Regions from separate parts of the Homo sapiens genome. Here region 1 is linked to region 2. The links are contacts of gene promoters, found by promoter capture Hi-C in human tissues and cell types (Jung and others, 2019). All regions are on one chromosome and are shown on one strand. The core of a region is centred on a gene start or on the middle of the fragment in contact, and the rest is flanking DNA. Distances in the headings are between cores, read along the strand shown.

Region 1 (5,224 bases), core at 802-3,301, 230 kb before region 2:
TTCATAGCTCTCATAGCATCGGGAGGAACAGTGAGCGGGGTTGGCAGGCAGGACACACCCCAAATCATAGGTCTGTGCACAGATGCTGTAATGGCCTTGGGGTGGGCAGGTCTGTGCTGCAGGCAGTTGGCAAAGATAAATGCCTAGGGCTCAAATTTCTTTTCTTCTTCTTCCTTCTTCTTCCTCCTTCTTCCTCCTTCTTCCTCCTTCTTCCTCCTTCTTCCTCCTTCTTCCTCCTTCCTCCTTCCTCCTCCTTCTCCTAGTCCTTCTCCTCCTCCGTCTTCTTCTTCTTCCTTCTTTTTCCTTCTTCCTTCTTCTTCCTTCTTTTCCCTTCTTCCTTCTTCTTCCTTCTTCCTTTCTTCTTCTTCTTTTTTTTTTTGAGATGGAGTCTCCCTCTGTCTCCCAGGCTCGAGTGCAGTGGTGTGATCTCCATTCACTGCAACCTCCACCTCCAGGTTCAAGCAATTCTCCACCCTCAGCCTCTCAAGTAGCTGGGACTACAGGTGTGTGCCACCACACCCGGCTAATTTTTGTATTTTTAGTAGAGACACTGTTTTACTATGTTGGCCAGGCTGGTTTTGAACTCCTGACCTCAGGTGATCCACCCACCTCAGCCTCCCAAAGTGCTGGGATTACAGGCAGGAACCATCGCGCCCAGCCTCAAATTCCTCTTTCCAATCTCATCGCCTCTGCCCCTAGTCAGCCTGGCTTCCCATTGGTATTTCCCCACCTCCACACCTTTGTAGCTGCAGTTCCCTTTCCCTTGGATCCTCTTCCCACACATTCTCCTCCACCAATTCCACCTATGCTAGGAATTCTTCCTGGACTCCCACCAGGGGAAGGGGCTCTTCCAGCCAACCCATAGTCTGCCCTGCCTGCACCCCAGACCAAGCCAGAGCACTTATGGCAATGCTTGGGGCCCCTCCAGGGCATCACAGGGTTCCCAGGCTCCTGGCTGCTGCAGTATGGCCTGTGAGAGTGTCACAGAGACCACGGTGCTGGCCACTGGGATGACACGCATCCTGCAGGCATATACTAAGGAAGGGCTTGTTGATGTGGGCCACACAGTGGTTAAAGGGGCCATCCGGCACATGCAGGAGGCCACACAGTTTGGGAGCTTTGAAGATCTGGGCAAGTCATGTGGGCAGCTGACATGAAAGCCATGGTTGGGCTGGGTCAGTGGGCAGTGGATAGTGATCAGGCCCTTGGACCAGGACACGGTATCCAGAGGCAGGTCAAGTAGGCCAACATTGCCTCCAAAGGACCCATGGAGCCCCGCCAGCTCGCCTTAGAATTCAGAAGGCACCATGAGCTTCCCCAGGTGTACATGAGATACAGCCCACAGGCCATGTGCACCATGGCATGGTGGCCCTCCAAGGCGGCCAACCCCAGCCCCCTGGCAGTGCCCAGGGCAGCCAGTAGTGCTCACCATCCACCTGCAGGGGAGGTAAGGGGTCAGGACTGGGGCTGAGGAGGCTGAACCTGCTCCCATGCCTCCCTGAAACCTGGATGTCCCTCCTCATTGCGCCACAAATGAGGGTGAGACTTGGACAAGGGACTTAGCCTTTCTGAACTTCAGTTTCTGTGTTTGTAACATGGAAGGACAAGAGTACCTACTTCAGGCTGGGTGCGGTGGCTCATGCCTGTAATCCCAGCACTTTGGGAGGTTGAGGTGGGCGGGTCACTTGAGGCCAGGAGTTCGAGACCATCTTGGCCAACATGAAGAAACCCCATCTCTACTAAAAACTCAAAAATTAGCCAGGTGTGGTGGTGCAGGCCTGTAGTCCCAGCTGCTCAGGAGGCTGAGGCAGAAGAATCGCTTGAACCTGGGAGGCAGAGGTTGCAGTGAGCCAAGATGGTGCCATTGCACTGCCTGGGCGACAGACTGAGACTCCATCTCAAAAAAAAAAAAAAGAGTACCTATGCTAGGCATATGGTAAGTGCTTCATGACCCCTGCTAAGATCGGCCAATGCCAACCAACCCACAGACACATGAGTTAGGAAGCTGCCTGGGGTTAAGTCACTAAGATTTTGAGGTTGTTTGTTATGCAGCATTAGCTGACTGATACAGTTGCAATAAGGATTAGATGAGATGGTTCATGAAAATTCCTCAGAACAGTGCTGAGCACATGAAAAGCACTAAATAAAACACTAAATTGGCCGGGCATGTTGGCTCACATCTGTAATCCCAGCACTTTGGGAGGCTAAGGCAGGAGGATCCCTTGAGCCCAGAAGTTTGAGACCAGCCTGAGCAACATACTGAGACCCCATCTCTACAAAAATTAGGATGGCATGGTGGGGCATGCCTGTAGTCACAGCTACTCCAGAAGCTGAAGCGGGGGGATCACTTGAGCCCAGGAATTTGGGGCTGCAGTGAGCTGTGATCACATGACTATGCTCCAGCCTGGGTGACAGAGTAACATTCTGTCTCCAAAAACAAAACAAAACAAAAACCAACCAAACAAAAAACATCATAGCCAGTCACTAGCACATTGGTAATATGTGTTCAACATTCTAGGTGAGGAAAGGAATGACTTACCAAAGTATCAATTCCACCTTCTCTCTATTGCTTAAATGATCACTTATCTCTGCTTTGTAACCATCAAGAGTCTAGATTACCATCATTCATTTCCCGACCCTGCTAATAACCTGTTACCTTTTTTTTTTTTTTTTTTTTGAGACAGAGTCTCACTCTGTCACCTAGGCTGGAGTGCAGTGGCGCAATCTTGGCTCACTGCAACCTCCGCCTCCTAGGTTCAAGCAGTTCTCTGCCTCAGCCTCCCAAGTAGCTGGGGTTACAGGCACGCACCACCATGGCCAGCTAATTTTTGTATTTTTAGTAGAGACGGGGTTTCACCATCTTGGCCAGTCTGGTCTTGAATGCCTGACCTCGTGATCCACCTGCCTTGGCCTCCCAAAGTGCTGGGATTACAGGCGTGGGCCACCGCACCAGGCCATAACCCTTTATCTTGTCTCTACTCAGTCATGCCTGTCCTTCCTATACTCCATCCCCACCATCTAGCTGACTCTGCTAAACACCCTTATCTTTTTTTTTGTCTTTTTTCTTTTTTCTTATTTTTTTTAGACAGACTCTTGCTCTGTTGCCCAGGCTGGAGTGCAGTGGCACGATCTCGGCTCACTGCAACCTCCACCTCCTGGGCTCAAGCAATTCTCCTGCCTCAGCCTCCTGAATAGCTGGTACTACAGGCATGCACCACCACTTCCGGCTAATTTTTGTGTTTTTAATAGAGACAGGGTTTCACCATGTTGGCCCAGGCTGTCCTCGAACTCCTGACCTCAAGTGATTTGCCCGCCTCGGCCTCCCAAAGGGTTGGGATCACTGGAGTGAGCCACCGTGCCTGGCCTAAACACCCTTATCTTTTAAAGACATACACTTTTTAATTTTATTTAATTCTTTTAGAGACGAGGTCTGGCTCTGTTGCCTAGGCTGGAGTGCAGTGGCGCCACCATGGCTCACTGCAGCCTCGACCTCCTGGGCTTAAGGATCTTCCTACCTCAGTCTCTTGAGCAGCTGGGAACACAGGCGCGCACCACCCCCCCCCCCCCCCGCCTAATTTTTAATTTATTTTTTTGAGCCCGGGAATGGTGCGGGCCAGCAAGGGAGAGCACAGGGGCGGAGCGCGGGGGCGGGGGCCGCAGGGGCAGGGTACCAGACGGTGCCCAGCGGTGGGTGTCCGCCTGCAAGGAAGCAGCCGCATTCGGCTGCGGGCACTCAGAGGCGCCGCTCAGCGGGAAGCCCTGGCCGCATACTCAGCGCTCCCGGCAGGGCTGTCACCCGCGCATGTGGCCAGGTAGCGCGCAGCTCAGCGCGAACGCAGCGGGCACCGCAAAGCTGGGGCGGGCCGCGGGGGTGGGAGGGTCAGGGACAGAGACAGAGAGAGGTGGGGGAGACATAGCCAGGGTCGGATGGGGGAGGCGGAGATGGAGGATGCCCGCAGAGAGCAGCACGGGTGTGCCCGGGGAAGAAACAACGAGGAACCGAGAGAAGGGGAACGGGAACAGGGGAAGGGGCGGGGCAGAGGGAGGTCCAGAAAGAGAGACATGCAGAGAGCCAGCGGCACGGAGGAGACATAGAGACACCGAAAAAAGAGGCATAAAAGACAGAAAGACCTTGTTAATCAGGCCGGGCGCTGTGGCTCACGCCTGTAATCCCAGCACTTTAAGAGGCTGAGGAGGGAGAGCCGCTTGCGCCCAAGGATTCGAGGCAAGCTTGGGCAACATAGTGAGACCCCTGTCTCTATAAAAATTGTTAAAAATTTTAAAAAGACCTTGTTAATCAAACCAGACCAATCAAATCAAGTCATACCCCTGCCTGTCTTGCCGCATCTAATCTGGTCCTAACTGTTCTCCAGTACCCACCCTTCCTCGCCTAGCCCCACTGCCCAGGCCTGAACTTCTGTTGGTCCTGACGCGACCGTCCCCTGGTGGCCCATGTCAGGGCTCTTCAGAGCTTACCCCTCTCTCGAAAGCACACTCGTGACAGAAGGCAGACTCCCAGAGCCCTGCAAGCCACAGTGTAGGCAGCCAGGGCCCAGTATATGGTTCAGTGGGCGCTGTATTGGTGGCACACAGTGGGCCAGGCACTTGCTGAGGAATGGGCCTGGTCACAGTGCTGCATAGCCGGGCTCCAAGGGATCCACCGCCACTGCCAGCCACACTCACTGCCCATTCCTGGTGAATAGGGCATGCACGGCCATCTGGCAAAATCCAGGGCAGAGGGGCCCACAGACCTGGCTGCAACCTGGCAACTTAGCAACCTTCCGGGCATTGGGCAAGGATGTAATAGGGTCACTGGGGCCAGAGTCTACACAGGTAGGGTCCATATGGCCATGGCAGCATCACAAGTGCCAGGCTGTCCCAGTCATAGCAAGAGGCCAAAGTCTGTGTCCATGTACAGCTGGCAGCCCCAAAGTTGGGTGTGGAGGTGGTGGCCATAAGAGAAGGGCAGCGATTCCCAAATTCCGTCTACCTACACAGAGGGCATGCAGGCAGGTTGAACAGCAGCAGGAGATGGTCACTGAGTAGTGGGGGAGTCAGCAGAAAGGATCAGAGAGGGGTCAAAGAGAACCTTAGTGGCTGGTTAATGGGGGGAGTCATTAGGGATCATAGGAGGATTTGGTGGGAGGTAAGCTTGGGGCTCAATGGGGGGTCAGTATAGGATTCAAAGGGGGATCCATGGCAGAGTGGTTGGATGGCCAGAGTT
Region 2 (4,892 bases), core at 1,473-3,972:
GTCTCATGGGTCATCCCTGCAGGGGAACCAGGACACACACAAAGTCTCAGTCCAGAGGGGAGGAAACACATCCTGTAATGATAACAACCTAGTGTGATGGGGGCTCAGATGGGGAATCCAGGTGGTAGAGAGGGGGACAAGGGCAGGGCCGTGGGGAGGGGACAAGGGGCTGTCTCTTAAATCTCTCATCCCTATCTCTCATCACATGTCTTCCTACCCTCTAAAGGTCATTCTCTTGCTACTGGGCTGGCACTCAGCACTCTTTGAGGGGTGTCCTCACCTTGGGACACCAGGTCTGGCTCTGGGATGGCCAGTAGTGGCTTCGACCCAGGGGCGCATCTCCAAAGGGACTATCTTGAATGGAGAAAACTGGCAGGCTGCAAGAGGAAAGTGGGGTTCAGGCAGCACGTGGTTTCGCCGCAGCCCTGGGGAGGGGGACATTAGAGGAGGGCAGAACCAGACAATTCCCATAGATTCCTGGAGGAGACGGACTGTCATTTCCATGAAGCACCGTTGCACATTCAGGATATCGACAGTGGAAGGGTGAGTCCTGGGAGCCCGCCCCTGGAGCAGTCTTAACAGGGAGCAACTCAGGAACTGACAGCCGGTGGTTCTCAACCCTGGATCCAGTCTAGGAGGGGCTTTTCAACGTTACAGGCGCGCGGTTCCCATTCCAGACCAACAGAATCAGAATATCTATTAGTGGGGCTGGGCCTCCGTGTCTTTTCCGCAGCGTCCCAGGTGATTGCGAAGTGGAGTTCAGGTTAAGAATCGCGGCTCGCCGGGCGTGGTGGCTCACGCCTGTAATCCCAGCACTTTGGGATTACACCGAGGCGGGTGGATCACTTGAGGTCAGGTGTTCGAGACCAGCCTTACTAACATGGCGAAACCCCGTCTCTACTAAAAATATAAAAAATTAGCCAGGCGCGGTGGCAGGTGCCTGTAGTCCCAGCTACCTGGGAGGCTGAGGCATGAGAATTGCTTTAACCCGGGGGCAGAGGTTGCAGTAGCCAAGATTGTGCCACTGCACTCCAGTCTGGGCCAACAGAGCGAGAGACTCTGTCTTAAAAAAAAAGAAAGAAAGAAAGAACCGCGGCTGGATTATATCACCGAGCATTTCCCATACATTCCTGGGGGACACGAAGGCAAAGGGTAGATGGACTACAAGCCCCAGGATCCACTGGGCTCCGCCTCCGCGAGAAAGTTCAAAGACAACGCCCAGGCGTGTCTGGGGGCCATTTCAAAATGAAGAAATTCAGATCTCAAGCCTTTCTTGGACACCTTTAGAGGCAATAATTCCTTGGGGCCCACTCAGAGAGGAACATAAGACTCTTAGGGGACCCCCGGGATGCTAACGGCTACGGCTGGAGAGGCCAACGGCTGTGGAGCATGTTGGGAATTGTAGTTCCAGTGCGGTGGAGCCCTAGCGACTCCAGACCGTATCCAGCCCGTCCTAGGCTGTGCTGCTCTCGCCGTTGGTCCTCCCCAGCCTCCTGTAGTCCCTGGAAGAGCGATCGGCCTCACCTGCGGTCCATCCCGCGGCTCCCTCCGCGCTTCCGGCCGCTCTGCTCCTTCACCCAACAGGCCCCGCGCGCATCTCCGTCGCTTAGCAACGCCCTATCAGCCCCGCCCCTCTCTGTGCCCGCGCCGGAGGCGAGCGGCCTCCAAGGCGACCAATGAAAGAGAGGAAACAGAAGTACCCGGAGGGAGGTGTTTCAGGATTGGCTGGGACGACTGCCTGCCCGACAGGGCGTGTTTGATTGGAGAACCTGCCGAGTGTAGCAGTAATTGGCAAGACCGTGCACCAATGGGAAGGATCTGAGGCTGGGCTTGCGGTTAGGAGGTGATCTAAAGTACCCTCGCTTAAAAGTCCCGCTTTTTAAGCGCCTTCTTGCTGCAGAAGTCCTGTCCCGACCCCGGTCTAACTACCATTCTTTCTGTTGCAGGGGCAGTGGGGCGGGTTGGGGGGGGGGCGCGCTCTGCCCTCTCTCTAACCGCTATTCCTCCATCAGTTGGGCCAATCAGTCCGTCCCAACGGTCATCTAACTTCTTTCTTGCTGCAGGAGCAGCTGGTTGCATCAGTTGCCAGGTCTGGGCTCCTGGCCGAGGTAGCGGGATCAAAATGAGCTATTTCCAGCCCCAGCGCGCGGCCCCCGGGGGGCCAGCCTGAACTGTTCATGCTCGCGCCCCCTGGCCTCTGCGCACCAGAGGCTGAGTCAGAGGCACAGAATTAGGCCCGGCCTGCCGGGGGACTGGGCCCAAGGTCTGGCTGAGGATAAGGGTAGGGAGGGCCTGTTCTATGTCCTCCTGACATCCTGGCGGGGCTACCGCATTCTCCAGGAATCTGCTCCTAAAGACCTCCATCTGCGTCATCCTCAGAGCTGCCAGGGGGGAGGCAGTGGATTAAAGGGACTGGAAACTCTTCCGTGGGCCTCTTGGGTCCTGGGCCCCAATCACCACGCTGTGCTCCCCACACCCGCAAGGCTCCCCCTCCTCAGCCTTAGTTTCCTCTTCTGGAAATTGGGGAATCTTCATGTCACCTTCTTGACAGCATTTGCCAGGCATCCAGCAGGCGCTTAATAAATGGCCAAGTCATTGTTTGGGTTTCTAAATAAGGCTCTCCTAATGGCCGGGTCTGGCCACGGTCCCAGTGTCCCTGGGCAGCCCTCCGAGGGGCCGGCACAGGGCGCACTATAAATGAGCGGCTGCGCACGCAGGGGCACTGCAACGCGGAGGAGCAGGATGGAGATCCCTGTGCCTGTGCAGCCGTCTTGGCTGCGCCGCGCCTCGGCCCCGTTGCCCGGACTTTCGGCGCCCGGACGCCTCTTTGACCAGCGCTTCGGCGAGGGGCTGCTGGAGGCCGAGCTGGCTGCGCTCTGCCCCACCACGCTCGCCCCCTACTACCTGCGCGCACCCAGCGTGGCGCTGCCCGTCGCCCAGGTGCCAGGCCTGGGGAGGGGTGAACTCGACCACTTCCATTGCCAGGGGTCTGGGGCAGCCTGGGGTGGGAACATGTGAGAGAATGTTCGTTGGCCTTGGGCGGGGTGGAGAGTCCGCAGCTCCGAAGGGCTTCCGGAGTCAATGGGAATCTGAGGCCCGCACACTGCAGCGGGTGGGAGGTCCCCGTCGCTCTTAGGTGGGGGGCGGGGTGGGGGGCTCTCAGCTCTCCAGAGAATGGAAGGCCTGGGTCACTCTAAGGGGAGTCTTGCTTACTCTGAAGGAGGCTGGTGATCCGGGAAATCTGGGGAAAAGGAGGCGGGCAGTGACTCCTGAGGGGAAGGAATGTTCTTAGTCTCGGGGAAGAGTTGAGAGACTGTGTGCGGTGGCCCGATATCTCCAGAAGAGGAGGGGAGAGGGCCCTGCGACTTGAGGAAGGGTTCCCGGCCACTCTGAAGTGGGGGAAGGCTACCAGTAGCTGCCGAGGTCCCGTGACTCGAGTGGGAGAGTAGGCAGAGGACCCTGGAGACGGGGAAAGGGGCATCTTGGCGAGTTTGGCGGGGCTGGCGGAGAAGGGACCCGGGGCTCTGAGGAGGGAGCTGGGGAATCAGTGCCCTGGGGGGCACGATGACTTCGGATTCGCTGACACCGGGGGAGGGCAGAGGTTCCTGACCTTGCAGGGGAAGGGAGCCTCATCACTGCGGGGGAGAGGGCAATCCCAGATATTACAGGGGGAGGGCGTATCCCTGTTGTTCAGGGTGAAGAGGTCCTGGGTGACTCCCAGTAGGAGAGCTGACTGCTCAACTCCGGAGGCCAGAGTGAGCCGCGGCACGGAACCGACGGGGGTGGGGTCTCCCTGGGTGGGTCCTGGAGCCTGGCCCAGCCCAATGACAGTCCCGCCCGCGCCCGCTGCGCTCAGGTGCCGACGGACCCCGGCCACTTTTCGGTGCTGCTAGACGTGAAGCACTTCTCGCCGGAGGAAATTGCTGTCAAGGTGGTGGGCGAACACGTGGAGGTGCACGCGCGCCACGAGGAGCGCCCGGTGAGCCGCGGCGTGGGGCGGGGCTGGAGCGGGTACGCTCGCCGCCGGGCCGGAGGGGCGGGGCCGCTCAAGCCTCCCTCCCCTCCAGGATGAGCACGGATTCGTCGCGCGCGAGTTCCACCGTCGCTACCGCCTGCCGCCTGGCGTGGATCCGGCTGCCGTGACGTCCGCGCTGTCCCCCGAGGGCGTCCTGTCCATCCAGGCCGCACCAGCGTCGGCCCAGGCCCCACCGCCAGCCGCAGCCAAGTAGGAGGGGGCTGGGCCGCGCCCGCACCCCGGGAGCCTCCTCAGGCTCCCTCTATTAAAGCCGATCTGACTCCGCCCAGCCAGATGTCCCGAGTGCGCCAAGGACTGTCCTCTCACCCACTCCTGGATTCTGCCCTGACCTCCATCCTGGACACTGCCTTGATAACATAGACCCTTCCACTGACACCCTCGCTCTCACACCCCCTCCAGCTTTCCGACCCCACACCGACAACTCCCCGGCTTCCAGACCCTACCAGCACTACCCTAACCCTCAGCCGACAGTCTCAGCCCCACCGACCCACTTTCTTGGCATATAGCCCCACTTAAGACCCCTCCTCTACTTCCTTCTGAGTCCTCTACAAAGACATCCGGGTACTACATTTCCATCCCTTCCCTATTTTGACACCAAATTATGGTGTAGACAGCCCTCCCCCAACCCCAGGCCAGTCAGGCACAATCCCCCCACCCCCCAAACGTCCTGGACTGCACAGACCTCCCACTCCAGACCATCCAGGCCTGGTTCCCAAGACCCGATCCTTCCCCTGCAACCAGACAGTCTACAACTGCCCCCTCCAGCCCATTTTCTGCCGTGAAACCCCAGCCAGCCACACCAGACTCTGGAACCCTTTTTCGACTGCCCCAACTCTTGGACACCAGGCCAACTAGA

The links. The method cuts DNA at HindIII sites, captures the fragments that hold promoters and counts their contacts. A contact is called where the count stands out against the background at its distance.
Region 1: a fragment that was not itself captured here is called in contact with the fragment with the promoter of HSPB6 in region 2 in 2 of the 25 tissues and cell types used here (dorsolateral prefrontal cortex and spleen).

What each region holds. Positions count from the first base shown.
Region 1 is chr19:35,985,840-35,991,063 of GRCh38, reverse strand. No RefSeq gene overlaps it. Among named protein-coding and RNA genes, the nearest start is that of SDHAF1, 6.7 kb to the left of the region's middle. RefSeq lists an enhancer at 4,062-4,121. The HindIII fragment of the contact is 5,281 bases long and covers 1-4,691 here.
Region 2 is chr19:35,754,859-35,759,750 of GRCh38, reverse strand. It overlaps HSPB6 (heat shock protein family B (small) member 6), which reads left to right and starts at 2,722. Exons shown (of 3, transcript NM_144617.3): 1 at 2,722-2,940; 2 at 3,857-3,979; 3 at 4,068-4,892. The coding sequence starts at 2,743. The coding sequence ends at 4,229. PROSER3 (proline and serine rich 3) reads right to left here and starts at 1,575. Exons shown (of 11, transcript NM_001367856.1): 1 at 1,525-1,575; 2 at 281-377. The coding sequence starts at 1,535. RefSeq lists enhancers at 1,231-1,290, 1,331-1,570, 1,899-2,470. The HindIII fragment of the contact is 17,144 bases long and covers 1-4,892 here.